2 separate regions of the Homo sapiens genome follow, and region 2 is linked to region 1. Evidence: promoter capture Hi-C in human tissues and cell types (Jung and others, 2019). All regions are on one chromosome and are shown on one strand. The core of a region is centred on a gene start or on the middle of the fragment in contact, and the rest is flanking DNA. Distances in the headings are between cores, read along the strand shown. Region 1 holds the start of POU5F2 (POU domain class 5, transcription factor 2). Region 2 overlaps LOC105379082 (a long non-coding RNA gene).

What was found. Contacts are between HindIII fragments. The study calls those that stand out against the background at their distance.
Region 2: a contact is called between a fragment that was not itself captured here and the fragment with the promoter of POU5F2 in region 1, in 1 of the 25 tissues and cell types used here (mesenchymal stem cells).

Annotation. Positions count from the first base shown.
Region 1 is chr5:93,739,821-93,743,050 of GRCh38, reverse strand. POU5F2 (POU domain class 5, transcription factor 2) reads left to right here and starts at 1,451. Exons shown (of 1, transcript NM_153216.2): 1 at 1,451-3,230. The coding sequence starts at 1,488. The coding sequence ends at 2,474. All of the region lies in intron 10 of ARB2A (ARB2 cotranscriptional regulator A), which reads left to right. The HindIII fragment of the contact is 4,314 bases long and covers 1-3,230 here.
Region 2 is chr5:92,559,385-92,562,676 of GRCh38, reverse strand. LOC105379082 (a long non-coding RNA gene) reads left to right here. Exons shown (of 4, transcript NR_188298.1): 3 at 2,644-2,878. Among named protein-coding and RNA genes, the nearest start is that of LINC02058, 380 kb to the left of the region's middle. RefSeq lists an enhancer at 1,331-1,987. The HindIII fragment of the contact is 8,223 bases long and covers 1-3,292 here.

The sequences.
Region 1 (3,230 bases), core at 202-2,701:
GGTAGACTTCAGATGTTTTAGGAGTCCCAGTACATAAGATTTGACACCCTGTGGAGAACAGAAAAAGTCAAGAACAGCTCCTAGGTTTAAGCTTGGATGACTGAGTTATTGATAACTAGTTCAAAAGTCCCGGGATGAGAGGTAGGTTTAGAAGTGTGGATAATGAATTTGACTTGGGGCAGTGAAAAATACAAAACTGGAAATCAGAAGAGAAGTCAGAACTGAAATACAGATTTGGCTGTTATCACCATTTCATGTAAATTTTAAAAGGAGAAGGAGCAAGAAGAGTTGTCACTATAGCCAGATACAGCAGGATGAGGATTTTTTAAAAGGCCATTGGATTTGACAGCTGAAAAATCACTGATGACTTCAAGAAGACCAGTTTCAATAGATGTGGGTGGGGACAGAGCCACATCATGGTTGGTTTAAAGAATGAAGGGCTATGATTGTCTAGCCAAGGTCATTGTGCTCTTCCTCCTAGGAAACATTGAAACTGAGGTCAGAGCCTCTCTTTCTCCCTCCCTCCTTAGCTTTCTGCACACAGGGCCCACAACTGGATGCCTGAGCTAGGGGCATGATGGAGGGACAAATTAAGATTGTTGGGTTTCTGGTGGGATAAGGGCCTAAGGATAAAGGAGCCTGATGTTGGTGAGTCATATATTGCAGGGAGCATCCTCAGTGGGGGACAGTGGGTCAGGCCAGTTCAGAGACCTGTCTCTAGAGTGGGAAAGAGAAGACACACACCTAGATCTCTGTTGGTTGAGGAAACTCTGGACCAAGAAGCTGGGTTAGAATGGGAAACAAAAGGACCTTCAAGGCTAGGGGAAGAAACATGGAATTAGTTACAAAGTTCTGCCCCAGGGAGGGAGTGGAATCTGGCAGTTTGGGGGTGGGGTCGGGGGTAGAATCTGAGGTAGTAAACTGATGTTAACTAGAAACTCAAGCAGGGTTGCCTAGGTTTCTTAGGGCACAGGGACTGGGGATGTGCAAAGAGGAACTGTTGGCAGTACTTGTGACCATAAAGATAGTAGTGAGGGGGCAGTTTATGAATTGAGGGGTCGTCCCAGCAATATCTGGCATATAGATATTTAATAATTATTTGTGAAGACAAGAGGTTAGGTAGCTCCTGGGGATCAGGGTCCAGAGTTTCTGAACAGGCATAAGAAAATACCTGGGTTCTATTCAGGCAGGGGATGGAGGCAGTGAGTAAGGGACTCCAGACAGCTTGGAGATGCAAATCCCACAAGGGAGCTTTGTACCTCTATGGGAGTTGGAAGCAAAGGTCAGGGTAGGGGGCTCACTCCCTTAACCCTAGGACCCAGGAGTTCCTATGGATCTACCAGATTTCCCCGCCTACGCACAGGCACCCTTGGCTTGTAACGCCTTCTCCGCCCACTGGGGGGCGGGGCTTGAGGGGGCCGGTGGCTGTTCTGAAGCCTCGAGGGCCATCAGTTCCTACCAGAGCCGCTGCGGGTGCCATTCCACCCATGGCCGGACACAGGCCCTCAAACCACTTCTGCCCCCTTCCAGGCAGTGGTGGGGGCGGCCCCAGAGGGCCGATGCCCCTGCGGGTTGACACTCTGACCTGGTTGAGCACCCAGGCGGCCCCTGGCAGGGTGATGGTCTGGCCGGCAGTCAGGCCAGGGATCTGCCCAGGCCCTGACGTGTGGAGGATTCCCCTGGGTCCCCTGCCACACGAATTCCGGGGCTGGATAGCACCCTGCAGGCCCCGTCTTGGAGCTAGTGAGGCAGGGGACTGGTTGCGACGCCCCTCCGAAGGCGCCCTCCCGGGGCCCTACATTGCCCTGCGGAGCATTCCGAAGTTGCCGCCGCCAGAGGACATCTCGGGCATACTGAAAGAGTTGCAGCAATTGGCCAAGGAGTTGAGGCAGAAGAGGTTGAGCCTAGGGTACTCGCAGGCCGATGTGGGGATCGCTGTGGGAGCTCTGTTTGGGAAGGTGCTTAGCCAGACGACCATCTGCCGCTTCGAGGCCCAGCAGCTAAGCGTCGCCAACATGTGGAAGCTGCGACCACTGCTGAAAAAGTGGCTGAAGGAAGTGGAAGCAGAGAACCTTCTGGGCTTATGCAAAATGGAGATGATCCTGCAACAGTCTGGGAAGTGGAGACGGGCAAGCAGAGAGCGACGAATCGGAAACAGCCTGGAGAAATTCTTCCAGCGGTGCCCTAAGCCCACACCCCAGCAAATCAGCCACATTGCTGGGTGCCTCCAGCTGCAGAAGGATGTGGTTCGAGTTTGGTTCTATAACCGCAGCAAGATGGGCAGTCGACCAACCAATGATGCTTCCCCACGGGAGATTGTGGGGACAGCCGGGCCTCCTTGCCCAGGAGCACCAGTGTGCTTTCACCTGGGACTGGGGCTCCCAGTGGATATCCCCCACTATACACGTCTCTACTCTGCAGGGGTAGCCCACTCCTCTGCCCCAGCCACCACTCTGGGCCTCCTCAGATTTTAGGGCTGAGGGGCTTGCCCTTCACGGCACGGTTGGAGAGGGGAGAAGAAGGGAAAACCCAGGAAATGTCCCTAGGGTTCATTTGAGGGCTTTTAGTATTAATTTCTCATTCACTGTCTAAAGAAGTTAAGGATACATAGTAGGGAATGGGGGTGGGAATTGTTCAAGAAAAACCTGGGAGAGAAGATGAAGTTTATTGCAGTTTTGTGTTTTCCCTTTGTTTTTCCCTAGCATTGGTTTAAAGGTACATTACAGTATATAGATGGTTTCGATATTTTGTTCCTTTTTTTATTAAATATTGTGTCTGTTATTCCTTGTGGTTATCAGTAAACATAGGGTTTAAATTTTTTCATAAACACAATACTAAGTGAAAAACTCAAGTCACAGAAGACTACCTTAGTATACAATTTTTTACTTAAAATCAAGCAGAACTCTGTGTAAACACAAACACAAAATCCAGGATAATAGTTATCTTGAGGGAATGACTTGAGAATGTGATAGGGAAGAAACACACAGAGCCCACCTAGAGCCCTTGCTGAAACACCTGAGCTTTCTTGGAAGATTTTTTTTTTTTTTTTTTTTTCTGATTTACCTTTTCATTTCTGGTGCCCCAGCTTCATGTCAGGGTCTCAGTTCCTCTCCCTACTTTATGTAGTCCCATGGGACTATGTCTTGTCCTGCCACAGTCACTGTATTCTAAACTCCTTTGTTACTGAGGTTGGCAAGCTGGACTTCAGAGCTTCGGTCCCAGCTGTAGCT
Region 2 (3,292 bases), core at 384-2,883, 1.2 Mb after region 1:
TCTGCCATTTTTCATAATAATTTTATGTTTAATCATAATTTTACCATTTGTAATCTTTTCAATTTTTCTGCTTTTTCCTATTAGAGATGAGTTTTAACATTACTGGTGTCCAAAACAAGTAAAAGAAACAGGTAAAATATAGTAGAGGAGATGAAAAATATAGCAATGATCTCACATTTGTGTAGTTCTCTAGAATTTACAAAGTGCTTTTGGATAGAACAACAACCTCAAATTGAAGTCCAGATTAGAATATTAAATTGATCAATTCTTTATTATTATTACTAACATTGTTTTACAAACTGTGAGGATATTCATTACACAGTACAGAGATCTGGTACTCATTTTGAGGAATGAAATGTAATGACTAAACACAGTATAAACAGTATAACCTATTTCACATTTCATAGAAAAGCTATTTGCTTTGGCTAAGTAAATAAATCCTTTCCACTCAGAAACAACTGTTGCAAATATGTAAATTTTAGATAATCAAACACTGTCCCTTGAAATAGTCTATTTATTGTAACTCTAAAAATCATTCTGGGGATACTTAGCTTAATCTCAGGGTACATTATACATTTCACACATTTAACATTTTATTTTGTAAAAAATGCAATTGAAATTGAGTACCTCCTTATTTTGGTGGAGGGTATTATAATCATTTTTCTCTAACTTTTAGATGTCAGGGAATAGTACTTGGATTTTACATAGATATGTTTTGTTTCTTCAGAATGCAAGCTCTGATTTCAGATTTAGTCAGAAAAGAGATACACATAAATCTATATGACCAGAAGAGATAAGTAGATCGTAAAAAGTCCACACACATCATAACCCTGCACATCTAACACACAGATAAGGACAGTTACAGATTATTATGGCATGGATAACTTGATAATCTATGGTGAATCTATGATAAATTTCAAACTATAACAAATACAATGACTCATATTTTTTAAGGAAACAAACCATGAAGGCATAAATTTACCCTGAGATTTGTGTCACTAAGAAACTGAATAGTTCAAAGTCAAACATTATATGACATGCTTTAGATTGCTCTTATGAAAGGCACTATAGAAATGTCACCCTATTATAACCTACTGTATTTAAGAATTAACTGCAGCAGAATAGCCACAGGAGATGAATATATACTGATATGATCATCCCCTCCTATTACTCACCAGTAGTTAATACAAAGCATGCTTTAGAAAAGAATCTATAAGACAAAGAAATAAACACACTGTTAAAAAAGTACTGCATTTAATATCAGGATTTTTAAATTAATTCTAACAAACCCTTATATTGTAGTATTTTATCTTTAATAATAGGAGCTTTTCATTTAAATGATGCAATCAGTATGCCACAAGCGGGTTCTTTCTTTAGTGGGAGGAGTTAGCAGCTCCAACATTCAATTGACCTGTTTCCAAATAATCTACAGGAAAAAAATGAAGATTAAGTCCTCTAACAAGAGCAGTTTTCACAGCCTTGCATACAAAGAGAAGGATTCGGTAAAAAGATGAGAGGGCAAGCCGCATTGTGCTGGCCCACTTAAATCTTATTTCCAATTCACTAAATGTGTTATTTGACTTGGCAAGTGAACTAGTATGTGTATTAGATCAGCAGGGAGCCTAATCAAGGAGATGCCAAGTTTACTGCAGCCCCTCTGAGCTGCATTAGCCTCAACTAGTGACCTTAAGCAAAGTGGGTGGTTGAACCCAAAAGAGAATAGCATTAACTTTTGCTTGAAGTTCAGCCTGAAGTCTCCTTTTGTGCCTTATTCCAAAAAAAAAAAAAAAAAAAATGCAAAAAGCATTTAACAGAATTGAATATAACAGAATTGAATCTAGTCTGCTCAGCACCATCTTCACACGCAAGGCTTCATAGAAGCTTGCCTCCATTAATGCTGACACATGCAAAAGAAATGAAAAGCATTAACTCAGCTGAGGCACTTGATTTTGCAGCTGCAGAACAATTCACTTTGTAACTCAGTAACTAAGATGGGGTTTTTCCGCCCAGATAAATTGCTAATTTGCTAATTGATACAAAAGTATTTTCAAATATTAAATAAACTGCAAATAAAGCAAAAAGAAAAAGAACACTAAGTTACAAGGACACCTGAAAAATATATAGCTTAGCATTAACGGATATACATATTTTTAAAGACCTATTTTACCTTGTACACAGCATTGAGCATCCATTCCCAGTTGTATGTAATAGCTTGGATGTGTAAGTGAACTCTTCAACGATATATTTGTACCAAGTAAAATGCAAACCTGTGTAGTTAAAAAATGTTGTTATATAATAAATTCAAGCAATAGATTTATCTTTAGAAACATCTTTGTTCTCAATTTAGTTTCCCTATTTTAAACTTTCCGTCTTGTCTATATACTCAAAGACTTCTAATAATGCCAGTTTTACACATTGTTTAGAAATACTTTGGAATCTATCTTTAATTCCAGGATGTTCGACTCAGAAATACTCATACAGCAAAAATTGGTTGGATATGAAGATTACAAAGTTATTGAAACTCAAAGACCTTCTGTAATGCCTTTGGTTGTAAAAGTTTTCTCTTTCCTAAGCCAAGGTTCTTTTCTTTTCTTTTTTTATTCATCCTTCATTTTCCACTGTTTGTTTGGCTTCCCTCCTCAGATCTGAAACGAAGCCAAGCAAAGCAACATCACCTTCTGGAAAGTGCAGAAACTGCAATCAAGATCAACAAAGAAAAGCACCCTTCCCATAGATTCATCTCTTTGGCGTTTAAGTGTTTGGGCGAGTCTACAAAACTCAGATTCCTCATTTAACTAGATGTTCCAGGTCACAGAGATATTCTACTAAGGCAATTTTCAAAAGACCATAAAACCACCACATCAATTTATGCTTGCAGGTAGTATAATTGCCTTTGTATCATATATTTTTAGAAAAAGTGGCTTAAAACAATTTGAATAGTGCTTTAGAAATAAGACCCTTAAATAATTGACGCTGGTATTGCCTTTCTTAACTCTGGGATTTCAAAACATTTTCCAAACATTAATTGCAATGGGACCCTGGTGAGGCTGATATTATCATACCTATTTTCCAAGACGATAAGCAGGGAGCGCAGGGCCCGTTTCTTGTCTTGCCCCATGCCCTTCAGAGCTTGTCCAAGCTCAGAGCTCCCTTAAAAACCATTGGATCAGCTCCATGGGAGCACAGAGGAAAATGAGAAATGGGCTCTTGGAGATTTAAGGGATTCTGTAAGGTTGTGTGTGAGTGAGCTGTAGCTAAAAGTCAAAGCTGGAAATCTAAGATTCCTTATTCA